Regions from separate parts of the Homo sapiens genome. Here regions 2, 3, 4, 5, 6 and 7 are each linked to region 1. Evidence: promoter capture Hi-C in 16 types of primary human blood cells and fetal thymus (Javierre and others, 2016). All regions are on one chromosome and are shown on one strand. The core of a region is centred on a gene start or on the middle of the fragment in contact, and the rest is flanking DNA. Distances in the headings are between cores, read along the strand shown. Region 1 holds the start of MAF (MAF bZIP transcription factor). Region 2 overlaps WWOX (WW domain containing oxidoreductase). Region 3 overlaps WWOX (WW domain containing oxidoreductase). Region 4 overlaps WWOX (WW domain containing oxidoreductase). Region 5 overlaps WWOX (WW domain containing oxidoreductase). Region 6 overlaps WWOX (WW domain containing oxidoreductase). Region 7 overlaps WWOX (WW domain containing oxidoreductase).

Evidence for each region. The method cuts DNA at HindIII sites, captures the fragments that hold promoters and counts their contacts. A CHiCAGO score of 5 or more calls a contact.
Region 2: a contact is called between a fragment that was not itself captured here and the fragment with the promoter of MAF in region 1, in 1 of 17 cell types (M1 macrophages). The highest score is 5.2, in M1 macrophages.
Region 3: a fragment that was not itself captured here is called in contact with the fragment with the promoter of MAF in region 1 in 1 of 17 cell types (M0 macrophages); the score reaches 5.1 in M0 macrophages.
Region 4: a fragment that was not itself captured here is called in contact with the fragment with the promoter of MAF in region 1 in 1 of 17 cell types (M0 macrophages); the score reaches 5.2 in M0 macrophages.
Region 5: a contact is called between a fragment that was not itself captured here and the fragment with the promoter of MAF in region 1, in 1 of 17 cell types (M1 macrophages). The highest score is 5.9, in M1 macrophages.
Region 6: a contact is called between a fragment that was not itself captured here and the fragment with the promoter of MAF in region 1, in 1 of 17 cell types (monocytes). The highest score is 8.4, in monocytes.
Region 7: a fragment that was not itself captured here is called in contact with the fragment with the promoter of MAF in region 1 in 1 of 17 cell types (M2 macrophages); the score reaches 5.5 in M2 macrophages.

The regions. Positions count from the first base shown.
Region 1 is chr16:79,599,086-79,602,929 of GRCh38, reverse strand. It overlaps MAF (MAF bZIP transcription factor), which reads left to right and starts at 2,193. Exons shown (of 2, transcript NM_005360.5): 1 at 2,193-3,844. The coding sequence starts at 3,028. It overlaps LOC101928230 (a long non-coding RNA gene), which reads right to left and starts at 2,043. Exons shown (of 3, transcript NR_188556.1): 1 at 1,941-2,043; 2 at 580-883. RefSeq lists an enhancer at 1,984-2,278. The HindIII fragment of the contact is 16,856 bases long and covers 1-3,844 here.
Region 2 is chr16:78,692,190-78,696,033 of GRCh38, reverse strand. The region is part of intron 8 of WWOX (WW domain containing oxidoreductase); the gene reads right to left. Among named protein-coding and RNA genes, the nearest start is that of WWOX-AS2, 190 kb to the right of the region's middle. The HindIII fragment of the contact is 3,096 bases long and covers 572-3,667 here.
Region 3 is chr16:78,715,718-78,719,561 of GRCh38, reverse strand. The region is part of intron 8 of WWOX (WW domain containing oxidoreductase); the gene reads right to left. Among named protein-coding and RNA genes, the nearest start is that of WWOX-AS2, 220 kb to the right of the region's middle. The HindIII fragment of the contact is 3,600 bases long and covers 156-3,755 here.
Region 4 is chr16:78,762,990-78,766,833 of GRCh38, reverse strand. All of the region lies in intron 8 of WWOX (WW domain containing oxidoreductase), which reads right to left. Among named protein-coding and RNA genes, the nearest start is that of WWOX-AS2, 260 kb to the right of the region's middle. The HindIII fragment of the contact is 4,674 bases long and covers 1-3,844 here.
Region 5 is chr16:78,898,547-78,902,390 of GRCh38, reverse strand. All of the region lies in intron 8 of WWOX (WW domain containing oxidoreductase), which reads right to left. Among named protein-coding and RNA genes, the nearest start is that of WWOX-AS2, 400 kb to the right of the region's middle. The HindIII fragment of the contact is 1,322 bases long and covers 1,073-2,394 here.
Region 6 is chr16:78,940,301-78,944,144 of GRCh38, reverse strand. All of the region lies in intron 8 of WWOX (WW domain containing oxidoreductase), which reads right to left. Among named protein-coding and RNA genes, the nearest start is that of WWOX-AS2, 440 kb to the right of the region's middle. The HindIII fragment of the contact is 3,714 bases long and covers 399-3,844 here.
Region 7 is chr16:78,987,211-78,991,054 of GRCh38, reverse strand. All of the region lies in intron 8 of WWOX (WW domain containing oxidoreductase), which reads right to left. Among named protein-coding and RNA genes, the nearest start is that of WWOX-AS2, 490 kb to the right of the region's middle. The HindIII fragment of the contact is 3,260 bases long and covers 251-3,510 here.

The DNA of each region.
Region 1 (3,844 bases), core at 944-3,443:
TCTAATATGGTGCAAGGAACGAGTGAGAGACACCTGAGGTTATAAATAGCAAAGCATGCTGCGGGGTGGGGAAGACCATTCTGAAGTGCAATGTTCAAGACGCTGGCTTAATATATGACTAAGTGTCAGAAGTCAGGTTTTCTGAGAATTACTTTCCAGATAAACAACTTTATAGCACTGCACTTAATCTTACTTACTAGAGACATCTCATTTATCACTGAATTACAAGTAACTTTAATCCTATTGATATTGCCATAAAGCCCGTTGAAAATCCATCCTGGCACTTTTAAAGGGTTTGGGGCCCTGTTACATGGGGATCCTCTTGCAAAGGTCTCAGCCAGAAATTACACCCCGAGGGTGTCTGTATCCCCTGGCCTCTTTGTCAACAATCAAGGAGAAGAGGAGGGGCAAAAATGATCTCTGCATCTGCCAGCACTTTCTTCGGCCCCTTTCCTATAGGGTCGGGTTCTCCCACTTCAGTCAAACTAACTTTGTGTGTCTCTTTCCTCCTCCCACACTGGGTAACCAGCTGCTTTTCACTTCATCGACAAAACTGGACACGGATCAATTTCAACTGACCTTTGCCGAAAGGTGGCGCTGTTGAGGTAAAAACCAACTCGCTCCAACAATAGTTTCCACTCTTCGATCCTTTTGCAGGCTTTTCAGAATTTTTTTTTTTTTTTAATGCACCCTCCTAGCGTCTCCCCCTTCTCATAAAGTAAAATAAATACGATTAAAAACACCAAATGCATTTCATTAATTGAAGGAATCAACAGTCCCAACTTCTAAGCAGACGGGCTGGTCTTCCAAAGGCTGGGTCGGTTTCAGGAGCTTTCTCTCCAAATAAATCTCTGCTTCTTCGACTTGCCTATCGCTTTAAAATCTTAGAAACAGAGTTAGTTGTTGGTTTCCTTCTTTTTTCTTTTTCTTTTTTATTTCTTTTTTGCATAAACTTTTAGAGAATCAATCTAGAAATTTGAACTACTTATTAGCATTTGCAACTGGGGGTGGGGGGAGCAGCCTCCCCCACCCCACCCCCCACTCTGCGTTTCCGGACTAGTTCCAGAAACCGCGGTTTAAAATTTAACCCTTCGAGGGTAGCTGGTGAGGGCTGGGGTATTGTTTTTCCCCCTTGCTCCCTGCCACGATCAAGTCCGAAATAATTAAAGGAAACGTAAAAGTGCAAAGGGCGCGCCTGACCCTGATAAACAGAGGTCAGATTTCGTAAGGGGACGGGTGAGTGTGAGTGTGTGTGTGTTTGTGTGTGTGTGTGTAAGAGAGAGAGAGAGCGAGCGCGCAATATGAGTCTCAAAGGCCAAACTCCGGCCAGTCAGGAGCCGGAAGGCTGAGCCCGGCTGACCTGACTTTGAGCTTCCCCGGAGTTATCTCGCATAGGCGCTCGCTCTGTCCAAGGGCACGCGACGCCAGCGGGCAGCCGGTCTCCGTGAAGAATGGCCTCTAAACAACTTATTTTACCTCGTTGTAAAGAGAGGGATAAAATGGGCTTTCCCTCTCCACGGATGCCCAGCCTTCTGGGCAGGCGCATGGCCGGGCGGCGCCCAGCCCGCAGCCCCGATCCGGACACCCCACTGCATCCCTCCCTTCCCGGTCCCTTCCCCGCACGGGCGCCCGAGAGACGGACAAAGAGTTGGGGCCAAGTTTGAGCGCCGGGCACGGCCAGGCTCAGGGAAGGAAGGTCCCCGGCAGACACCTGGGTACCAGAGTTGGTGCGAGGAGGAAAAGCTGGGAGGCGAATTCACAATCCTGGGGGTGGAGGGCAGGCAGGGGAGGGGAATCAGGCCAATCCCAGCCGAGTGAGCCCCCAGCGAGCTGGGGCTCCGGATGGGAGGCCTGTCTCGCGCTCCAAAGAAAAGCAAACCGCCCTCCCAGGTCCGCCCGGATTGCCGAAGCCCCTCTGGAAAAACTCCTTCCCCTCTTACACCAAACTTTGCGCCGGGCCTCGTTCCCTCCCGGGTAGGCAGCGGCGCAGGAAGGGTTAAGCCAGCCCGTCCCAGCTGACAGTCAGCTGATTGGGCCCTGATTGACAGCTCCGAAAAGTTTCCTTGTTTCTATACTATTATGCTAATCGCGGCCGCTCTCGCCGCCTCCCATTGGCCCGGAGTGCCAGTCAATTTCTCATTTGGACCTGACGTCACGAGTGCTATAAAACTCAGCAATTGCTTTAAACTCTTCTTGCTGGATCAGAGGCTTTAAAATCTTTTTTCATCTTCTAGCTGTAGCTCGGGCTGCTTGTCGGCTTGGCCTCCCCCTCCCCCCTTTGCTCTCTGCCTCGTCTTTCCCCAGGACTTCGCTATTTTGCTTTTTTAAAAAAAGGCAAGAAAGAACTAAACTCCCCCCTCCCTCTCCTCCAGTCGGGCTGCACCTCTGCCTTGCACTTTGCACAGAGGTAGAGAGCGCGCGAGGGAGAGAGAGGAAAGAAAAAAAATAATAAAGAGAGCCAAGCAGAAGAGGAGGCGAGAAGCATGAAGTGTTAACTCCCCCGTGCCAAGGCCCGCGCCGCCCGGACAGACGCCCGCCGCGCCTCCAGCCCCGAGCGGACGCCGCGCGCGCCCTGCCTGCAGCCCGGGCCGGCGAGGCGAGCCCTTCCTTATGCAAAGCGCGCAGCGGAGCGGCGAGCGGGGGACGCCGCGCACCGGGCCGGGCTCCTCCAGCTTCGCCGCCGCAGCCACCACCGCCGCCACCGCAGCTCGCGGAGGATCTTCCCGAGCCTGAAGCCGCCGGCTCGGCGCGCAAGGAGGCGAGCGAGCAAGGAGGGGCCGGGGCGAGCGAGGGAGCACATTGGCGTGAGCAGGGGGGAGGGAGGGCGGGCGCGGGGGGCGCGGGCAGGGCGGGGGGGTGTGTGTGTGAGCGCGCTCGGAGGTTTCGGGCCAGCCACCGCCGCGCAAGCTAGAAGCGCCCCAGCCCGGCAAGCTGGCTCACCCGCTGGCCACCCAGCACAGCCCGCTGGCCCCTCTCCTGCAGCCCATCTGGCGGAGCGGCGGCGGCGGCGGCGGCGGCGGCAGGAGAATGGCATCAGAACTGGCAATGAGCAACTCCGACCTGCCCACCAGTCCCCTGGCCATGGAATATGTTAATGACTTCGATCTGATGAAGTTTGAAGTGAAAAAGGAACCGGTGGAGACCGACCGCATCATCAGCCAGTGCGGCCGTCTCATCGCCGGGGGCTCGCTGTCCTCCACCCCCATGAGCACGCCGTGCAGCTCGGTGCCCCCTTCCCCCAGCTTCTCGGCGCCCAGCCCGGGCTCGGGCAGCGAGCAGAAGGCGCACCTGGAAGACTACTACTGGATGACCGGCTACCCGCAGCAGCTGAACCCCGAGGCGCTGGGCTTCAGCCCCGAGGACGCGGTCGAGGCGCTCATCAGCAACAGCCACCAGCTCCAGGGCGGCTTCGATGGCTACGCGCGCGGGGCGCAGCAGCTGGCCGCGGCGGCCGGGGCCGGTGCCGGCGCCTCCTTGGGCGGCAGCGGCGAGGAGATGGGCCCCGCCGCCGCCGTGGTGTCCGCCGTGATCGCCGCGGCCGCCGCGCAGAGCGGCGCGGGCCCGCACTACCACCACCACCACCACCACGCCGCCGGCCACCACCACCACCCGACGGCCGGCGCGCCCGGCGCCGCGGGCAGCGCGGCCGCCTCGGCCGGTGGCGCTGGGGGCGCGGGCGGCGGTGGCCCGGCCAGCGCTGGGGGCGGCGGCGGCGGCGGCGGCGGCGGAGGCGGCGGGGGCGCGGCGGGGGCGGGGGGCGCCCTGCACCCGCACCACGCCGCCGGCGGCCTGCACTTCGACGACCGCTTCTCCGACGAGCAGCTGGTGACCATGTCTGTGCGCG
Region 2 (3,844 bases), core at 870-3,369, 910 kb after region 1:
CTACAGGCTCCCACTTCGTCTCCCTCCCCACCAGAGATTCACATTCAGGAGGTCTGGGGCGGGGCCCAAGATCTGCATCTCTAACAAGTTTCCAGGTGATGGTGATGCTGCCGGTCCAGGGACCCCACTTTGAGAACCCCTGGTCTAATTCAGTGCAGCCCCTTTAAGGAATGACATCTGTCCTTCCACAGCGTACCTGATGCACACCCATGGGACATTAAAATATTGGGCACCTGGTCAATGCTCAATATATGTTTTTATTGGTTTTCGTTTTTGTCACAGGTTCCCTGTGTCTGGCTCTTGGTTCTCTTGGCTGACAACTTGATCCTTCATTCCTTTGATCCATTCCTGCATTGCCCCTCTGATTTGGAATACACAGTTTTATTTCCAGCTGTGACCTTGGCTGCTTTCCACAAAGACTCCGACTTGCCAGCATGGCTCTGCTCTCTCTGATCCAGCCCGCTGAACTCTCCTTGGCAGACCATAGCCTCACAGGTGGGATCTGCATGCTACTCTCTGATGAAGTCAGCTAACCGCCCCCATGACCTACTTCTATCATGAAAGACAAGCTTCTCTGCTCCAAAAGAAGGGTATCAATGTGCTCCCGAATCACAGAAAAGAGACACGGCAAATAGGGCAAGAGGAGCAAAAACTCATTCATTGTTTCCTGCTTAAAAAATGAGGGAGGGACATATGGGAGGATTCAAATTGGAGTGAGAGAAAAAGTGGGGGGAAGCTGCTTTGCTCCCCACAACCTAAAATATGTGATTGCCTGTGGATGTAAACACAATAATAATAATAATAATAGAATAATAACAAAAGGGAACTAATACTAGCAGGGTTTTCATACCTTAACAGTACTTTGACAACAAATGTTCATATTTCATTTGAAATTTATGAAACCTTTGTGCCTGTAATCCCACGAGTAGTAACATGGTAAATGAAAGTAGCAGGCAGTCTAGATCAATAATATTTTGCTTCATATTGGAAGAGCATTTGAAAGAAGCAGCTTGCTTCATCTATTCCCTGTGTTTACAATCCTGGTATTGGAATAGACTGGGGCTTCTAAGACTGGCTGGGAAATATTCATAGATGTGTTATTAATTTATGGGAAACTGAAGGACCTACCTCAAGGTTTAAGTAGGCCATTTAGAAAGTGCAGGAAGCAGATGTAAAGATACATAGCAGAATGCAGCGGAAAAAAAAAAAGAGTAGTGGGGTGATTCAGGACTTAAATCAAGAGCAGGAAGAGTAACTTCAAAAAGCTGTAATAGTTGATATTCCAATAAAGCGTTCTTATGAGAAAAAGCAATCTGTTCACATATGAATTCTGCCATATGCTTCTGTCTTTTCATGGTCTAGAAGGCCATGTCAGTAATTTCCAGTATTTACATGGGCATGCAGAATGCCTTTGCTGGTTAATGTGAATAAATGGGCTGGATTTACTGTGTTTCTAGTGTTCAATATACACACCATGCAGGCTGCTACCAGAGGCAAAGTGGAATTTATGGGTTTGCACTGAATTTCAAATGGATACTGGAGCAAAGCAATGGAAAGCAAGACTGACGTGGTGTCTGACGCTTCTCAGTGGAGGCTGCTTCTGCCTTGACAATGGGAAGGGCATTGTTTCAGGAAAGGGAGGAAAAGTCCAGCTAAGAGTGTGGCCCTTTTTGTCAAGTATTTGCAGAAGCAGTAAAGACCATGGTCGCAGCTTGTAGACAGAACCACACTTTCCACAGGTCTCTGGGGGGATCGCTTTGACCCGACCCCTAACCTCTGACTGTACCATTTCTAAATCCATTTTATTTTATTTTATTTTTTGAGACACAGTTTCTCTCTGTTGCCCAGGCTGGAATGAAGTAGTGCGATCTCAGCTCACCGCAACCTCTGCCTCCTGCCTCAGCCTACAGAGTAGCTGGGATTATATGCACACACTACCACGCCTAGGTAATTTTTATATTTTTAGTAGAAACAGGGTTTCACCATGTTGGCCAGGCTGGTCTTGAACTCTGACCTCAACCGATCCACCTGCCTCGGCCTCCTAAAGTGCTGGGATTACAGGTATGAGCCACCACGTCCAGACGTCTAAATCCTTTTTACATCTTGATTTTTTTTCTGTAATGTTGCCGAGTCTGCTTAACTCTGAGAATCTTACAACCACAACTTCAGTGGGAAAAGAGAGGGTATTCACAGCTTAAATAATAATTTACAAGCATGAAGAATGAAATCACATCTTCCCCTAGATCAACAATTCTCAGCCTTGGGGCTGCGCATGTTTAGAGCTGCATAGTTCTCTGTGGTAAGGGCCACCCTGTGCAATAGAGGGCGATTAGTAGCACACCTGCCCTCCATCCACTCGATGCCAATAGTTATGTCACCGCACCACAACCAACAATGTCTCCAGACATTGCCAAATGTTCCCGACAGGTGACATTGTCTCCACTGCCCTAGAGGAGGGCCCCCCACCTGAAATACTACTCTATGACTATTTGGTTCTGTGTATATTTTAAACAAACATAATTATTTCTATTATATTTGTATTATCATGGTTAGGGATTATGTGGAAAAAAATAGAAGCTGGAAAACTGGGACTAAATAGGCATATAGGGTGGCTGACAGAGCAGGCAGCATATTTTTGCAATGGAACTTAGAAGTAATAAAGGAAACAGAGAGAAAATTAACTGGAACACTGAGAAATTCCTCTGAGATATGCAGAGGGTCCTGTGGGTAGTGGTGGGGACGGGAAGCATTCTCTTTGTAGGCTAGACCTCTAGAACCATAGTAAAAACCATGAGGTGGAGATAAACAATGCCCAGCCAGAAATACAGAAAGGCAGTCAATATCTGAGTTGAACAAGAGATGGGCAAATAATTGCTTTTTAAATATACATTGTCTGCAACAAAGCAACATACATTTACAAGCATCTTGCTGAACCTTCCAAGGAAAGAGATCTAAAAGGTTGCTGGCAAGCTCTGGATGGCAAATAAAAATGAATAATATGATGTCCATATGGTTGGGCTTTCAAACTCTTCCGTGGATGCAACCCCATAGCAAAAGGCATCCCCAGGGAGAGAAGGGTGTTTAATAACTCAAGTTTTAGCTTTAAAACACCATGCAAACGATATCTTCTATTACAGAATATTCATGTTTGTTTTTACTATAAACAACATGGCCTATTCACCAAAAACAGTTGTCTCTTTAAGAAAATATGCCTTGGTTTCCAATGACTTCAAATGAACTCTGGTATCAGTACCCCCAACAGGGAAACCTGGGGCCACTCATACCCCAGTTTAAGAAGCATGAAATTAAGAGGGTCTTCTTGTTTCACAGGGATCATAAACAACCTATTTATGGGACTCCACTGGTGACCCTAGTCCTTCAATTCATTGCTTCCACAATTGTTAAGTTTTATAAACATGGGGGTGAGAGATTCAGGCATATGGCCCTTACAGTCAGAGAGGAACGTCTATAAATCTACAGGTGTTACCCATAAGAGCTCCTTGGACGTCTTAGAACCCAAAGGCAGGCATTCTTAATGAACAGATGTCAGCCAGGTGTGAGCCACTTTGAAGGGGGCATCACTCTTCTGTAATTCCTTGTAAATGGGAGGGATTGATGGAAACAAATCTCCTTAAAGGCAATGTACACTTTGGTAAGGACTGAAGCTTTGGGAACTGGTAAGGAAGCTATGGTTTCTTTAAGTCCTTTCAGAAAACCTTTCAAATGTTCAAAAGGAATTGGAAAACAAAAGTTGTTGCTTCTCTTCCATTTACTATTAGATTGAGAGAAATGGACTAGATATTAATAAAACCTTAGGAGTTAGACAGTTCCAGGTTGAAGTACA
Region 3 (3,844 bases), core at 706-3,205, 880 kb after region 1:
CCCCCTTCTCCTTCTTAATTAACGACACACTTGTCTCCTATTTATTCGCATTTCATCTAGACACTCCTCCTTCCAGGGCCATCATAACATTTCTCGACTTTTTCAGTGCACATGTGACAGTCCACCCGAAATTGTGCATGCCTGTAAGGCAAGCTTCTGATTATTGTTTCTTCTTGGATCCCACATCACCTGACAGAAGATTTAGCAAATGGTGGTCTCACGGGAGGAATGAGCAGGGATGGTTAATGGGGCTTCCACAGGGAAGGCTCCCCAGAATAACCCTTCAGCCATGGTCACCCGTTTTGTGTGGAAGTTCGTATGCCAGGCTGTGTGCTAAACACATTACCTGCACTGACTGTTTCTGTTGATCAGGTTCAGGCAAGAAAACAGGCTTTGGGAAGAAAGAGATCACCCACAATCACACAGATGATACATGATGGGCTTGGATTTGAAACCAGTTGTGCGTCATGAGGGGCTCATAGTCTTCACCAATACCCTTTAGCTCTGTTGGAACTAAGTTCTACTTGTCCCTTCACCCACCTAACCCCCCTGCTACCAAGAGTGCCTGGGATCTTACAGACTCAAAAAAATGTGAATGAGTGGTTAGTGCAGATTATTTCAAGAGAGCCCCAGATGCCATGTTCTTTAGGTCATGAGTCAGCCCCATCCACCCCTCCCCAATTCTTCACCTTTACCTCCTCAGTCACATCCATGCCTTTATTCATGTCTCCTCCAAAGGAACCAATAGAATAATTCCTGGCATATATTAGTGTCTCAATAAATATGTGTCACCTAAATGAATACTTCTTTTAAAAAAACATCCTTCAGAAACATTGGAACTCTCCTAAGCTATCTAGGTAGTGTCTCACTATGTTGGCCAGGCTGGAGTGCTGTGGTGTGATCATAGCTCAGGGTAGCCTCAAAATCCTGGGCTCAAGGGATCCTCCCACCGTCACCCTCCAGAGTACCTAGGATTAGAGGCATGGACCACCCATGCTTGGCTCAGTGTATTAATTTTCTAAAAGATAAATTTTTCTGACTGGCAAATTCATTTTTATTGAACATCATGTGTTCTACTCAAATATGGGAAAGAGAACCCTCCTATTCAGTTATAAAGTTTGGCTCCAACTCAAGTGAGCAAAAAAACATTAAATTTATTTAACTCCAAATACTATAAAAACACAATGATAACTTCTGAGCTAGTCGTTTTTTTAAATTTTTTTGGCACCACAATAATTCTTTTATGATGGTATCCAGTGAGAATCCCTCACGGACTTTTCTCTTAACATGGAAATGCATATGGTCTCTGTGGTACAACAGCTGTGTAACTACATAATTGTTTACAAATGTGCAAATTAAGTACCCAAACCAATAAAAAATAATAACTTGGGCAGCCATAAAAAAGAGATACTATAAACATGCAATGGCCCATACTTTCTCTATAAATAACCGTTGAGGCAAAAATACAACCACCAGAACCCCTTGTTTGAAATCCCCTTCCATAAAGCAAATAACGTTTGCAGTCTGGCAGGCTAATACCATTGTGCTTTCCCAAGCAAAAATGCTTATTAACATTTATCATTTAGATGCCATTAAAGTAACTGTAGTAAAAGTGGATCCATTTACAATAAGACACTTGGTGTTGGGTCCACTATGTCGTGAATAGGTTTCAAACCAGTACACAGCTCCTTCCTCATCACCAAACAGGTGGGAAAGACAGAGAGGGAAATATAAATAGCAGGAAGGAGAAAAACCACAGGGCATCCTTCTAAATATGTTCCCACCTACCTCCATCCTAATCCTCGATTAGATCCATCAGAGTCCAACCCAAAGGAAGCCGGCATTGGAGTATCAAAGAAGCAATGAAGTCTTGCCCTTCAGTGCCTCTTCTTGGAAAACCCCTCTTTCATTCCATTCTGTCTCCTCCGTGTGTCTGGGGAAACTCCTATTCATTCATCAAAACCCAACTCATTAATCTCTTCCACCAGGAAACCTTCTTTGTCCACCATCAAAGAGAGCAAATCACATCCTTCACAGCAGACCCTTCCAACAGTTCATATACTTAATACACATTTGTTGACCACCTACCAAAAGCCAAGCACCACTGTTCAAAAGGTGCTAAAGCCATAGCAATGAACAAGATAAGGAGCTCAGTCTATAAGTCAATGAATATATACAGTGTAATATTAAGCAGGATTGTATTACATTATTTCAATTACATTATTGCAAGTTCTGCACTTATTGTAATTATTATGCTGTCTCTCCCAGTAGGCTCTTAACTACTGGATCTCTATATTCCATGGTTTTCCAATTTAGCAATGCTTAATGAATTGATTTAAATTAAATTTAAAAAACACACTTACTCTTGGTATAGTCTAGGTCAACCACTAAGCCTGGGGAGACAGACTAGATTTACACAGAGCACCTCTGTTCTCAGGGAGCTTACAGCCATCTCTTGGAATAATCACTGTCATCACCATGTGATGAAGCCATTTACCCTTTTAAACTTTTCAGAGAAAACATTACTTTCTGTTGTCCTCACAGACAACCATGGGAGGTGTTATTAGCCTAATTTTACGACTGAGAACATCAAGACATTCCTTATCCTCTGATCTTGGGAAAGGGGGCAGGATATGCCCTTTTGAAACTGAAAATAAGATAATAAACATGAAGCCAGTGAGATCAGGTAAAGCAAACCTGGCTGAAGCTGCACACAGCTGTGGTTGCGTAGGGAGGGTAAGCTCAGGCTATGGACCAAGACAATGCTGGGCCACGTTTCTCCAGGACTATAAGGAAGATCCTGCAATTCGAATAGAGACGCTTTTTTTTCTGTTCCACACCTCTAAGAAAATCTCTCTGGAGGTGGTCCCATGATTCTCCTTGGGTGTGATGTCACCCAAGGAGCAGCACAGTGAGAGGAGCGTTATCACAGAACCTATAGAGATGAGGGTTATCACAGAACCACACGAACTTGCCTGGCAGGGGCTGGGAAGACACTGGCATGGAGTACACACAGGTGACATAGGGACCCAAAAGTGAGGGCATCCCCTAAAATAAGCAGTGCATCATCTTCCTCTGCCAAATAACACTCATCTTGAAGGGCAGGCAGCATTTGGCAGGAGCATTCATCCCTAGGGTTGCTGCAGAAAGCTACTGCACACTGGGTGGCTTAGAACAGCAATGTACTCTTTTGCAGTTGCGGAACCCAGAAGTCTGAAATCAAGGTGTCAACAGGGCCACATTCCCTCCAAAGGCTGGAGGGGAGGATGCTTCCTGCCTTCAGGAGCTTCTGGCAGTCCCAGACATTCCCCCGTTCATGATAGCACAATTTCAATCTCTGCCTCTGCCTCTACACGGCCCTATGTTTTTCTTCACATCATCTTCCCTCTATCTCTGCCTCTGTCTCTGTGCCCAAAATTCCCCTTTATGTGCATATTGGATTAGGGCCTATCTTAAGGACCTCATTTCAATGTGACTGTCTGATTTTTTTTTTCCCCTTTCCTTTAGACATTCCTCTTGATGATAATGATTATCAGAATGCATCATCCCTGGGACCACCATAATTTCTTGCTCAAACCTCTGTAATACCTCTGGTGGTGGACATTTAGGTTAGAGGCCCTATCAGCCCTTCCCAAGGCTCTACCTCTGGCAGGCTTCCATCGTATCCCAGCATTCCTTGCAGCTCAGGGGTCATGTGACACAGCCCATGCCAAATAGACACATGCAGAAGGGAGTTGATAGATTCTAGAAAAGCTTTTGCTTTTCCTGATAAAATGGTCAGACACGGCTGGGCACGGTGGCTCATGCCTGTAATCCCAGAATTTGGGGAGGCCAAGGTGGATAG
Region 4 (3,844 bases), core at 973-3,472, 840 kb after region 1:
ACACTTATAAATTAAAATGATAAATACTAAGTTGTGTACATTTTGCCAAAATAAAAAAAGTAAAGGTCACAAAACCTGAACATTAAAATCTGTGGAAGAGCTTGATCTGCCCTTGCTCTGAGCCTGTTCAGGCCCTTTTTTCAAACAAGTCTAACAAACTTGATTAACTGAATTCCTTGTCTTAAAAACTTTGGAGAGAGCTAACTCACAAGGCCTCTGAGCATGTTTTTCTTTTTTAGAGACAAGGAGACAAGCTCTCCCTCTGTCGCCCAGGCTGGAGTGCAACAGCACAATCACAGCTCACTTCAGCCTCCACCTCCTGAGCTCAAGCAGCCCTCCTGCCTCAGCTGCCTGAATAGCTGGGACTACACGGAGGAGACACGACAGCCGGCTAAATTTTTTTAAGACGTGGGGTCTTGCTGTGTTGCCCAGGCTGGTTTTGAAGCCATAGCCTCAAGCAATTCTCCCACCTCAGCCTCTCCAAGTGCTGAGATTACAAGTGTGCTACCATGCCCGGTCTCCTCTGCACATTTTAATAAGGCTAGCGACACACAGGAGAGATGACGAAGAGCAAGGCTTTCTACCAGCGCTAGGTGATTCAAGTTTACCTGGTGGAATCCTTTTTTGAGTAGCCCAGAAAAGGCCAAGGCACGCAGTATGTCCTGCCCCTGGCAAATGGAACCTGACCCAGTTCCCACCGACTATCAGGGGACGGTATGTGTGACCACACCTCTGACCACAAATCATTCACCCCGTCCCACTCCTTTGGAACTGCTCATGTCATCTGTGTGCCTGGGCTCTGTAAACCTTTTCTGTGCAGACTTGGGTCTCTCCAGCTGTATTTCCTGGATCTAGTCATACTTTTGTTATACTTTCAAGCCACTGGGATCCCTGATCACCCCTCACTCCTCACACCAATGGGCATGGAAGCCACGTAAATTTCTGCCTCCGCAATGCCTGTGCCACCCACTCTGTCCTCTCTGTTCCCTTAGGCTCCACCATCCCAGGGCAGGACAGAAATAGTGCGATGAGTTCTCTGACAGAGGTTGTGATTTTTGCCTCTGTTTTCTCTCCATGCCAGTCCCTCCTCGGCACAACTGCCAGAGTGAACTCATTAAAGCTCACCTTTGCTGTGATCCAACTCTTCTTTTTTTTTAGACAGAGTCTCACTCTGTTTCCCAAGCTGCAGTGCAGTGGCACAATCTCGGCTCACTGCAACGTCTGCCTCCCGGGTTCAAGCAATTCTCCCACCTCAGCCTCCCGAGTAGCCAGGATTACAGGCGCCCGCTATCACACCTGGCTAATTTTTGTACTTTTAGTAGAGATGGGGTTTCACCATGTTGGCCAGGCTGGTCTCGAACTCCTGACCTCAGGTGGTCCACCCGCCTCAGCCTCCCAAAGTGCTGGGATTATAAGTATGAGCCACCGTGCCCGGCCCCGAATCTTACGTGGAAATTTCAGGGCCTCTCACCTGCTTCCTGAAGTCAGAGCAAAGCCCTCACCCTAGTGTTCAACGCCTCTACCAGAAGGTCTCATCACTGTCCCTAAGCCCATCCTCTACTGGGCTCTTCTCATTCCTGACACTTCCTGGACTTTCTGCCTTTGCTCGTGCTGGATCCTCTGCCAGGGATGCCTTTGTTGTCACATATCCCACCCCAATCCCCACACTGTGGGGCCACTGTGATCTGCAGCATCCTTCAAGGACCATCACCCTACCACATCCCCGCACAGCCGCCACCCATCCTCTCCAGGCACTCATTTCGAGATGCTGAGACTTCCCTTCCACTGTCCTGTTGGGCAGGGATCTGGGTTCTTGTCCTGTTCCTTCCTGCATCCCTCAACCATATCTTAAGTTTTCTGAAAGCTCAAAAAATATTGTAAGCAGATGTGTATGCCCTAAAGGCACAATGCAGATAATTCAACACTTGCGTTTTTAAAAGTTATTTTAAAAAAGAACAAGTGTTATATCCATAGTAAACTCAACAAACCTTTGCTATGAGCAACAATATCAAATGAGATCAGACCTAGGTAAGTTGTTTACCGTGTTCAAGACACTGTGCTAGAAACTTTGCAAGCAGTACCTCATTGAATCCTCACAGCCTTAGGAAGGAGGTACTAGAATTGCACCCATTTTGCAGATGAGGAAACTGAGGCTTAGACTGCCACTTGTCTTGGTTATCAAAGGTAATGTTGGAAAGCCAGGAATCAAACCATAGCAGCATGGCTTCCAAACCCACCCGGGGCACGGCACATGTGAGCGAGTAACAGATGAAGGCCAAAGGAGAAATGTCAACACAAGAGGCAGAAAGCAGAGAACACAGGTTCTAGACAAACAGGTAACTGGTTTGGATGAAAACAGTCTTAATTTTACAAACCCACTCCCAGAAGAAGCACCTCCCTACCATACCAATTTCCCTTCCAACAAGAGGACAGAATGCCTCCAAGTGGGCCTGGAGGAGGAGGCGGCCTCCTGTGTCAAGCTCACAGGGAATTAGGACTTGCCAGGTTCTGCAATGCTGACCAAAAGGCCATACTCACTGGACTGGGTGGCAGCTCCTCCCCACGGAGAAATTCTGGCAGGAAGGCGGAGCCGTTTAACAACACCCGGCCGCACTTCAAAACAGGGTAGAGCCGGAAGACTGAGAACAATATGGCACCCTGTAACCTGCTGAGTACAGGAGAAACACAGTGACTTTTCGGCAAAAGTGGTGACACGATTTTTATCCTGGAGCACCAGCTGATCCTACTCACATCAACCCTTCTGGATCTCTCTGAGCAAATATTTCACATATCCTACGCAGCTGGTGCCACTCCAAGCATGATCTGGGCAGAGGCCCAACATGTATCCCAGCCCACAATAGATGTGGGGCAGAGGGAGAGTGGGGCTTCTTCAGCTCAAGAGTGCTAAAGGAAATAGAAGAGGGTTTTGGGGCATTGGGGTGTACACAATTGCATACAGACTCCCCAAAAACTCTGCAGGGCAATTAGAAAGAGGAGAGCCAGCTCTACTATGCTGACAATTATGCTTCGGCTAGGTCTTAACTGAATGCTGGAGAAATTAAGTCAACATGAGATGGGTGAAAAGAAGAATCAAAAGGAATTGAGACAAAACTCGTGAATACCAAATAACAACTTCGTGGAACAAGTATTTAATGAGTACCTAATATGTTCAGGGCACTGTACTAGGTGCTGGGCATACAGTGGTGACCAGGACAGATTTTGTTTCAATGACAGCAACTCGGCAGTGAAAAATACCTTAAGAATCAAAGAACCTGAGTTTGAGAGATTTGGAACAGAGTTTCATACTCTATGTAAAAAATTGCATTCATGTTTCTCTCCCCCAAAAAGTGCCTCTATCCCAAAGAGCCAATGTCTTTTTGGACTATAAACTACTTGAGGTCAGAAGATGTGACCAGGCCACTGCCTGGTAGATAGCAGGTATTCAATGAGTTCTGGATGAACAGAAACAAGTAAATGCTGTAATAAACATGTGAGGGTCGAAGAAGAAATCACATGGGAAATTGGAACATATTTTGAATTAATGAGAATGAAAATACAACATACCAAAATTTGCAGGATGCAGGTAAAGCAGTACTTAGAAGGAAAAGTATCGCTTTGTAATAAACACAGATCAAGCCATACGCCAACTGCTTGAACAATGGTTTTCTGGCCCTTGACTGTAACGCTTTCAGTACTTCAGCTCCCTATCTCCACAGCCTACAATAGTGCTTTGGCACAGAGTAGGTGCTCAGGAAAAATCTGCTTTATTGCAATATGAATGTTCTAGTGTAAGTCCCAGAGTCGTACTCAGTTACCCCTCTGCATATGGAGATCTATTGCTCAT
Region 5 (3,844 bases), core at 484-2,983, 700 kb after region 1:
CTTGTCCTTGAGGTAATTAATCAGCGGTGACTCTTTACCCTGGGAATAATATGCCTCAGAACACTTTTCATTCCTGTAATATCAATTATGCTGCAGAGATGCAGTTCTGAAAAAGATACAAAGGCATTTGGTGGGGTTTGGTGGCAAAGTAACCAGGCTAAGTTGTTGACACTACAGCACACAGGATGGTTTCAGACACCACCGGATCAGCTGCAGGCTGCCCGATTCTCCAGAAGAAAAATGTTTCCCTTGCTTCCTGCAGAGGTGGATGTAGATGCTGTCTGCCAGCTCTGAAATCTGCACCATTTCCTTCTCCAAGACGATTTTGCCAGCTCTCAACTCCCGCCAACCCAGTAATTTGTGTTGGTCACTATTTCATCCCCTTCTTCCATTTCCTAAGGCAAATCTGCCACTTAGAAATACACACATAATGGAGTGGGAATGGGATTGATCAGCCCAACAGTGAGGTGCGGAGGGACGCCCCTCACTTGATGTACACTCAGATTTGTAGGAGAGGCCCGTGTGAATTCACGTCATCCCTCCTCTATCCTGGGCAGCGACAGACTTGGATTGTACACCAGTGTTTAGAACACTGACTACCTCGCTAGGCGCAGTGGCTCACGCCTGTAATCCCAGCACTTTGGGAGACCATGGCAGGTGGATCGCTTAAGCACAGGAGTTCAAGACCAGCCTGGGCAACATGAAAAAACCGTGTTACTACAAAAAAATACAAAAACTAACCCAGCGTGGTGGCCCATGCCTGTGGTCCTAGTTACTCAGGAGGCTGAGGTGGGAGGATGACTTGAGTCTGGGAAGCACAGGCTGCAGTGAACCAAGATCCTACCAATGTACTCGAGCCTGGGCAACAGAGGGAGATCCTGTCTCACAGGAAGAAAAAGAGAACACTGACTACCAGCTACTTATGAAAAGAAGGAGCAAAACAGAAAATGAAACAGAAGTGGTTGTGGGGAGAGGGAAAAGAACAGGAAAAAAAGAGAAAGAATTAAAGCCAAAATTCCATCCGAAATATTTCCGTGAAAATATTCTATAATGTGTTGGATATTCTAAAGCTTTCATGACATAGTCTTATTTTCACAAACACATACTTTGTGATCTTTTGTCCTCCCACAAACCTTTGGATGATTGCCAGACTATTGCTTTCAAAGTCTATGTCTTCATTCCTTTATCTCCTTCAGCACCTACTCTCATGGATAGGAAGGAACCCGAACTCTGCATTTTGCCCTATGAAAATGGACTCTGAATCCCAGCTTGAAGGAGAAAGGTAATGACTGGGAGAACCGGAACTTCTAGATGTGTGCAAACTCTGATACAAGGGTTGGGTCTGAAAAGAGAGCAGTGGTCCATTCTGTAGAACATGTTCTTGGAAACTTCAAAATATGAACGCTCATGGAAACTGTGGTACCCTTCTAGAGAGATTAATTAGTGCTCTTCTTGGGAATAGAACATTAAAGAGAATATGGGATGAATCTGTATTGTAGCCATCTCCCACAATATCAACTATCTTTTTCTTTTTTTTTTTTTTCAAAAAAAGGCTCTGATTAAAAGTACAATTTTATTTAATATCCTTCAAATAAAAAAGAGAGGTTATTACGTTAGCATGACCACTATGAATATTCTTGAAAGTGGTACTAGTAGAATTGTTTTTTATGATTCCATTGATTCAAAATGAAAAGTGGCATTTGCCAAACATATGATCTGATGAGTAATAGATTTACAAAGCAACCAAAGAGGAAAGACAGGCTGGAAAGAAAATCTATCTGATTATGACTTTGTGGTTTGTGTACTGGTTACAAATAACCTGAAGGCCACGAAATATCCAAATTGGAACCTCTGCTTAGAAAATTCTTATGTGAATAGGGACCTCTGTGGGTTTCTTGAAAGTTGTGAGGCAGGATCTTCACTGTTTCATGAATCACTTTCCTAACAGAAAGTCTCATTTTTAAGGAAAAATAAAAAACAAATTATTTGGGTGCCCAGCAAATTACATGCACAGTTTTTAATAATATGAGCGTGCATACTTGAGTGACAGCTCATTTGGGCTTAAGGCATAGATTTCAACATGTTCAGTGTATGGAGAAACCAGGCTGGAAACTTTCCCCTTCAGTGTCTGAGCTGACACAAAACAGGAGGAGAAAAGACTTTAATCTCGTCATAAACAAATGTACAGGTCTGCATGAAGGTTTACACCCTACTCTGGCAAAATGATGAACGGTTTGTTACTGACTCCTTCATTTAAAAAAACAGTAATAAAGAAATAAAATAGAGAAGGAGCAGCAACGCTCTCTGCAGGAAAAAAAAAAAAAAAAAAAAAAGTCAGGAGGGCTTGTATATTGCACATCTCCGTTTTGGTAGCCCAAGGAGGGAATATAAGCTTAAAGTCCTGAATTTAACAAACCTAATTATCAAGGCTTAATTAGTACCAAGGGTACAGCTTCATGGAACACCTGCAGACTTAATTTATGTCCTGACAGAGAGGAACAAGTGTTAATGGGCTGTATTTATGTTAATACCTGAACCTTAGGAGCCAGTGGAACAAAACAGACCACGCGCTAGTTTTCCAAGCTACAACACAAATATAAAAGATTTTCGTCTTAATGCTGCTTTGCACACAATTCTTCAGGGATCACAGAGATCTCCTTAAACTTTTAAAACTAAAAAGTGGAATATGAAGAAGTAGAGCCGTTCTGGGTATCTGTAAAAGTCTTACAAGATCAACTCACCAACTAGTCATCATATCTTTTATTTAAAATTGACAATGGCGGATGTGGCCAATGTTCCCGTTGTTCAGGATGAGTGTTTCTCAGGACGCTGAAATATAAACCCACTGTTTCCACAGATGCTGTAATATTAAAATAATAACTAACATTTATGGAGAACTCACTGTGTATCAGTCATTGTATTAAGCTCTTCGTACACATTTTCCAGTTACAGATAAAGGAAAGTGACATACGGGGTAAATAAACAGGCCAGGTTTCTAGGAAGTTCAAAGATTTGGAGTTAGGTTTCCGGAACAAATCCTTTTAACCAATGAGCTAAACTCCCTCTAATATGCAGATAGTAAGAATAAGAAAAATATAAAACATATATATATGAACACATTTATAAAAGAACTCTCAGCAAACTAGAAATAAATTCAAACTCCTTAATCTAATGAAGTATAGGTACAGAAAACATACAACTAGCATCACATATAATAGAGAAGTCCTGAATAAAGCAATGATGTCTGTCTCAAAACCTCTGTTCAACACTGTCCTACAGGCTATAGCCAGTGCATTAAAACAAGAAAAAGAAACAAAAGCCATAAAAATTGGAGAAGAAGTAAAACTATATTCAGAGATGTAGAGAATTCTACAGAATCTATTTAACAAAAAGGAAAAGGTGAATAAATAAATTTTAAGATCACAGGATATGAGAGCAGTTTGCTAGAATCAACTGTATTTCTATATATTAGAAACAAACAGTTGGAAAAAAGAAATTTTATAATGCCATTTACAATAGCATAAAAAAATCAAATGTGTAAGAGTTAATTTAACAAAAAAGTATAAGACCTCCACATTCAAAATCATCAAATATCACTGAAATGTTTATAAATAAAGAAGCCTTAAATAAATGGAGAGATGCATGCTCATGGATGGTAACGCTTAACACTTTCAGGATTTTGATCCTCCTCAAATTGATCAAGAGATTCAATACCAAAGCAAATAAACTCCCAGCAAGGCTTTTTAAAAGAAATGGAGAAGCTGATCAGGAAATATATATGTAAAAGGAAAGTATCTAAACTAACCCAAACAATCTTGAAATAAAGAACAAAGTTTGAATCCTT
Region 6 (3,844 bases), core at 1,006-3,505, 660 kb after region 1:
CTTATCATAGGCTCAGACAATACCACAGCAAAAAACCCCCAAACAAACAAACAAACAAAACCCAGGAGGAATTCTCAGAAATCAATACGTCCTTGATTTTGTGTTTTTGTTTATTTGTTTTTCTTCAAACGTCCTTTCCTTGATGAGCTTCTAAAATATCTGGTGAAGGACCTGAAAATGAACTCTTCTGACAACAGAAAACCAGGCAATGGAGGCCTTGGGTAGCAGGAATGATGGGTTCCTGTGGCTGCTGCTTCATCTCAGGGACCACATACCACACTTCCAGAAGCTGTGCTCTTTCGGGACATCGGGGAGCCATTTAGTCCACCAAACAGTGATGTGCGGTGGGAAAGATTTCCCCTTCAAATTGTGGGATCCAGAAGGAGTTGCAGGAAGCTTAATGGTCTTGGCAGGGCTACCTTTTACTGCTGGTCCCATCCCTGCAATCGCACACCCTGCTACTTTTCCAGTGTCCTACACTCTTCTGGATTTTTTCAGCTGCGTCCAGGCCATTGACGGGGCCACACAGAGTGGAGCCATCGCCCTCTATTTTGTTTGTTTCCCAGGACTGATCAATGGTGATGTGTCAGAAACTGCAAGAGCAAGGCTGCTCTGATAAAGCTCGATAACCCCATGGCTTGGAAGATCTGATAACTCAGCTGCTCTGCAAGTTTATGTGCCTGGGTCCTCCCTGTTTCTCCCTCTAGGAGTTCTCCAGGTCTGGATGGGTTATCTGGCCTGGGGGAGTGGCGATGCAGTCGGAGGAGATGAACAGTTAGTGAATAAGAGTGTAATCTTGAATGCCAAAGGGTTTGGATCTCGGGTTGCTTTTTACTCGTTTAGCGTACCTCATTCTCCTTATCCAGGAAATGGGCACAATAACGCCTGCCTCCCGGGATCTTTTTTAAGATTAAACAGAAAAAGGAAGAGGTTATTTGTAAAGTGCAAAATGAAATGTACATCATATAGAAAGCACTCAAATGACAACTATTATTTAAGAACCCACCATGTGTTGCCACCTTGATTCGCTGTCTAGCTAAAACTTTATAGCAATTTAAAATAGTTGCCGTCATTGCCCTTATTTAACAAAACAGGAAGCAGAAGCAGGAGAGATAAGCAAAAATAAACGCAGAAAGGCAGGCTTTCATTCAAAGTTGATCTGATACAAATCCAAGACTGCTGCATTATTTACTTGCAAATGAATATCTTATTTCCTTGAGAGAGAGGAGGGGATGGGCAGTCAGCAAAGAAGCAAAGAACATCTCTTTCTAAAGAGCTGTCTTTGACCTAGGACCTGAGCCACGGGATTTGGAATTCATCCCTTCCGGGAAACCAGAGAGAAGTGCATGAACGGATTTCTCAATTTCTTGCTCATGTTTGCCTGCACAATGATGTCTCAAAATATTTCTCCCCTATGTCTTGCGATGACCATCAAGTTCAGTTAGTTAAGTTCAAGGTCCTCATTAGTGCTCATTCCATTCCATTTTCTCTTCATGCCACGTGTGAAAAGTATGTCTCAAACTTTCTGAGATGAAGTACCTTTAAAATGTAACGCTCTCCTTGATTGTCTGAAATAATGTATTCTGGTGGGTTTTTATTAATTCCTTGCTTTACCCCCATCCCACTGCCCAGAGAGCTACGGGAATCAATTTTTCTTCTGTCTTCTTCTTATGATTATTTGGGGCAACAGACTTATCTTCAAACTGCTGTCATACATTTTTACAGTGTGTCCTCAAAACTGCTCCCGAGAGTGCAAAAGAGAGTATCAAATATGCAAGGGGTAGGCTGCGCTAGAGGTTCTTGACTTTTCAATCAGCTTGATGACTTTTAACCCCTTACAAATGAAGAAAAATTCTTCAAGATGGCTTGGCAGCACGAGGAACAACTAGAATTATTTAAGAAGCCTACTACTTTAAAGGGAATTGACTATACCAAACTCTTTAACTATGTCAAGAACACACAAAGACGCACCCACTCTGCTTCTCCATACCAATCACATCCAAGCTACTAGAAAAGGAGGGCGCTTCCGTGTTAGAATCACAGTCATACGTAATTTGAACTTGGGCATACTAAAGAGTAACTACCTATCAGCGGCTAGACCAGGCGAGGTAGAGAGTGGGAAAGAAATGCTCGCCAATACTTCCACCCACTTTATTTCCCAATGACCCACATTCATCTACATTTTCCTACGGAATACAGCACAATGTTTACAGTAAAAAATAAAACCAAAGAACTTAATCAGCGCCGTAATTAAATTAAGGCCTAAATAAGTGGGCAAAAAGAACCACCATGATTACAAAAAAAGAAAAAATAGTAGTAAAAGCACAATCCTTGACTTACATGAAGTACTTCTTTTATTTGATTATGATACCTTTTTTAAAAATATAATTTCATTGTAAGGCGATTAACTGCCTTTTCAAACCTGGGAAAGGAAACCTGAGAATTTCTTCTTTCCTGTGAGTAGGGGGGATGCAAATACAATGTACTGCAGGAATAACAAATGCTCTATTTTCTGAGCACTCTCCTATGATTTATGAAAGGTGTACCTCACTGTGGGAAGATAATGCCATTTGAAATGGTCCATTTCATAACTCTATCCCCCCGTCCCCAGCTTCATACAGGACTACTATGAACTCCTGAATCCAATAATGTTTTCACCCTCTACTGACAAAAAAAAAAAAAGGACTTTGTTCGGAGGAAGGTAATGATGCGCTTACGAGGAGCAACGGCTAACGCTCTGTCTCCAGGGCTTTCTTTGGCAATGGCCACGGAGCTTCCAAGGCGGGGAAACTTGGATAAACAAAATGAAGAAATAATCAACATGCGCGACATCCCTAATGTCCTTTTACTGCTAGTGGCATTAATTATAGCACGGGCCCAATCCTCCAAGCGACCGCAGAACCAAATGTTTTGCCTGAACACGCTCTCCACTACATGATAGATTTATCCTTTGCAACTGGGATATTTCCTATTCATTCATGCACCAGTTCAGTATATCTGCTTGTTAATCTAACTGCAAGAACGCTTTCTAGAAGAGGATTCTTTGCAAGATGTGAGGCAATCAGGGACCAATCATAAACTTCAGTGAAATTCATGGCTGTGAGTCTTTCTGGTCATAACAAGGGAAAAGTGATATATACATCCCAACACCATGCAGGTTCCAGAAGACCCTTATGAAATATGAGTGGGATGGGGTGGGGGGGCAGAAGAAAATTCCTTGGGATCCAAGCAAATGGACAGCATAGACATGAAGAGTGACTGAAAATACATGATCGATACAACTTATTAGAATGAAGCTGTACATTACACCGGGATCAACCTCTTCTCTTGAAAGACTCTAAGGACCAGGATAAGAGGACAATAAGATAACAAACAGGGACTTGACGTCATGAATACTGAAAGGGAAAAAAAAAGTAACCCCGCTGGGTAGATATGCTTTGTGGTCATTCAAAAGGAAAAAAAAAAAAAAAGTTAACCTAAGAAAAGAAAGAAAGACATATGTGCACATGCCTGTTTAGGGATATTTTAACTTCTGTGGAGATTAGAGCATTTGAGAAAACCTATATACCCCCACTCAGGTACTAATGGATTAAGAAGCAGATGGAACACGGGATGTCGATGGAAATGATGTAAAAATGTGACTTCGAAAGAACTCCTAACACCGGATACTCCTCCTGATTCTGGAATTTGCATATTTTGACTTGTATCTAAAAAGCAATTTCAAGGTCAGCTTTGGTAGAGAAACACTGAGCTAAGATGGGAAGTAACCCCATTAAAAATCTACCACTGTTTTGCATATTTATTTTTCTTCTTCTATAGCGAGCAATGACGACTCATAAATCAA
Region 7 (3,844 bases), core at 631-3,130, 610 kb after region 1:
AGAGTGTCCTGCTCTGTTCAAAGGCACTTTATAAATCTAACAAAATGACCAAGATCCAAACAGGCTGTCCTTGCCAGGGTTTTGGTCTGAAGACAAGCTCCCCTGGAGGTCGGTTCTTCTTTCTCAGCATGACACCTCTCTCTTAAGGGAAAAATCACTCATGCTGTGTTCATCACCTGTTTTGTCTCCTTTTAAAAAATGCCAAGTGAACACAGAGACAAATTCAGTCCAGAAAGACTGAGGCAAAGCTTGATTAAGACAGCAGAGGGATCCTGGCAGGTCTGACTGTGCCCTCTTGCCAGACTTCCTTCCTTCCCTGTCTCCCTCCCTCCCTCCTTCCTCCTTCCTTCTTCCTTCTTTCCTCTATGTGCTTCTCCCTCTCTCTTTTTCCTTCCTCCTTTTTCTTCTTTCATTTTACTTTATCACATTCTGGCCTGTTCGCTCTACCATCTTACAACTTGGGTGGTGATGGAATTACCCTGGGGCTTTGGGGGCTCCCCGGTGTAAACAAAGAGCTGTTGTCAGTGTGATGTGCATTTTGGCATTGATAGAATGCAGGCCACAGAGTTTGCAGTAACACAGCTGTTGACCTTTAGTAGCTCCGGACTCTGGAAATCCACTGAAGCTAGACAGCCATTCCCTAGCCCAGAACTAGGTCGTGCAGAGAACAGTTGAGGCTCCTCAGGCTGCGGACAGGGCCCTTCTCAAGGCACAAGGAGGATCTTGCAGAGCCCATGACTTAGAACCAATGCACAGTCAGGCTTCATGGAAAACAGGCAGCAATTACAAAGCATGGGGGGAATGGAGGCCCTTAATCTGAGATGCTGATCAGTTGAGCTCAACCTCTCTCTCTTTTTTTTTTTTTTTTGGTGAGACAAGGTCTCCCTCTGTCACCCAGGCTGGTGTGCAGTGGCAAGGTCATGGCTCACTGCAGCCTAGACTTCCTGGGCTCTAAAGATCCTCCCACTTCAGCCTCCCGAGTAGCTGAGACTACAAGCGTCTGTCACCAAGCCCAGCTAATTTTTGTATTTTTTGTAGAGATGAGGGCTTTGCCGTGTTGCCCAGGCTAGCCTCGAACTCGTGAGTTCAAGCAATTTGCTCGCCCCGGCCTCCCAAAGTGCTAGAATTACAGACATGAGCCACTGTACCTGGAATCCCCCGCCTCTCTTTCCCTCCATCTGTCTCTCTCTCTCTCAATCACACACACACACACACACACACACACACACACACGCTCACACACCACCTCTGTCTCACTTTGCTTCCTCTCACTTCCTCCTGGGCCAGCCCCATTACTCTCAGCATCTCACCGCCCTCTTTGCACACCTGCTCCATTCTCTCTCCTGCTCTGCTTCTGGCTTACTCATGCTCTCTGCTCCCTAACACCCTTCTTGCAAAGGGTCCCAACTGGATGCCCAATTCCTGAATCCACAAGACTGCTCAGTCTCAGTATTTATCCCCAAACACAAGTCTTTTTCTGTGTCTTTCAGTTCACATTTTTGAGAGCTGAACCACACAGGAGTCCACTGCTGGCCCCACTACCTTTGACTGGTGGTGGAGCCATGGGCGCTATGGACAGGGATCCCCAGCCTGCAAGCCAGCATGGGCAGGATGCCTGGATGCAATATTTGTGGTGCTGTTAAGATTCTGCAGGGTGGTTTGACTGCATCAGGGCCATTCTATCTTGGGGATCCAAGGAAGCAAAGATGAGTTCATCAGACATATATATAAGCTAATGTATTTAGCTCTTGATATTGAACTAATCAAACTAAAAAGAAGGCCTTCTAATTGAATTAGAATTCTTAGAACCACCCGAAGAGGAAAGATGGTTAGTGGATGGGGGCATCCAAGATGGAACACTATTCCCAATTACTCACTAACCCTGGGGAGATACAATAAGGGTTCAGCATCTTCAGAACTCTAAATATGCTGATAATTTTAGTAATTAAGGACTCCAAAAAGGGATCATTGTTAGTCCCAAAGCTCTACAAGTTAAATGGCTTACTCTGAATCATCGAACTCAGGATGATTACTTCCTCCTTGTTTTAACAGAGAACTCAGGTTGTACAGGAACTCAGGAATTCTCCTGCCTAGTTCCTGAAGCAAAATGAAACCTTCCAACAAAGCTGAAAAGAAGCACGTGTATCTGCTTTGCCTGACTGCCCACCAGAGCTCGTTTCTCCACTGATCGATTGGGGCTCGCAGCAACATGCTGGCCCCAGGGATGCACACAAGCCACGGCTGAGAAAGGACAGGCTGGGAGTGGGGCACAGACTACAGCCACCGGTCTTTCTCTCTGGGAAGAAACTAACTTGACAGCTATGCAGGAATCTCCCATTTCCCTACCCAAATGCACTTTCCATCCTTCTGTACTGGTCTTCGTGCCTGAAAAAGTTGACCAATATGAACACATCAGTAACTTCCTTTTGCCATCTGGTTTCTAGCAGGGCTTGAACAATGGCAAAGAGTTGAAGGGGCGGGGATGTTTATTCCGCTGGGACCTCTCCTGGGGAGAGGGAGTATTACCAGTGGTAGGCTGAATTCCTCAACCAAAGGTTACAGCTCCTTCCAAGGAGTCTTCTCCATCCTGGCACCTTCAACTGTCTCCAGTATCTGCTCCCTCTCCTTGGCCAAGGATGGTGACAGCCACCCCTATTACTACCTCTGAGAAATTAATTTTCTTTCTTTTTTTTTTTTTTTTATTTTTTTTGAGACAGAGTTTTGCTCTTGTTGCCTGGGCTGGAGTGCAATAGCGTGATCTTGGCTCACTGCAACCTCTGCCTCCCGGGTTCAAGTGATTCTCCAGCCTCAGCCTCCCGAGGAGCTGAGATTACAGATGCCTGTCACCATGCCCAGCTAAGTTTTTGTATTTTTAGTAGAGACGGGGTTTCACCATGTTGGCCAGACTGGTCTCAAACTCCTGACCTCAGGTGATCCACCAGCCTCGGCCTCCCAAACTGCTGGTATTACAGGCGTGACCCACAGCACCAGACCAGAAATTCGCTCTCTTTTATGTTTCCCTACACCTTGACCACCCCCCCTTTATAAAATAGCCCCTTTGTTATTAAAATTTCTTGAAATTACTCAATTTGGGTTTGTTACCTCTTTCCCACTGGGACTACCATGGATACAGAAGGGACATGACGAGACCTGTGGTTTCACCGGAATCATGTTGTAAGCAGCAAAGCCCACAGGGCTGATTCACTGTTTAAACAGCAAGGTGGGAAAGTCCTGCTGGAAATTTTTGGAGAGCACATTTTTTAAAAGTTGACAAGTTCATCAGCCCAAGAAGAAAAGGACACAGAGAGTTTGGGCCGACATATCGCAACTCTCATTAGCGCGAAATGAATTCACGTTACTCTGCCTCTGAACATGGAGGGCCCTGTACAGAAACAAAGACATATGCACCATCATGCAAAAAAGCCACTTGAAACATGAGGGAGCATAGAGGAAAGTCCTTGAAGAGGTCTTTTCCAATTTTTCTCAACCCACATATTTTATAGGAAAGCTTTAAACTCTCACTAAAACAATGGATTAAAAAATGAGAAACCCTCCTTCCAGTTTCACAATCCATTTGTCTCATCCTCTCGAGAGTTGCTAGAAAAAAGAAAAAAGGACAAAATACGTGGCAGGAGCTCCAGCATGAACAAACTTGAAAAATCCTGCCTTTGCTAGGAAAATATTCTTAAATTTTCAAACACATTCCAACCTACCCGATACAAGGTACAAAAAGATCATTGTCAAAACAAAGCAAAACCACTCACATGCCAAAGATCATGGAACCTAAAGCAATCAATAAAGCCAGGACTGAGTTAATAAGCACAGCCTACTTATAAACTGACTC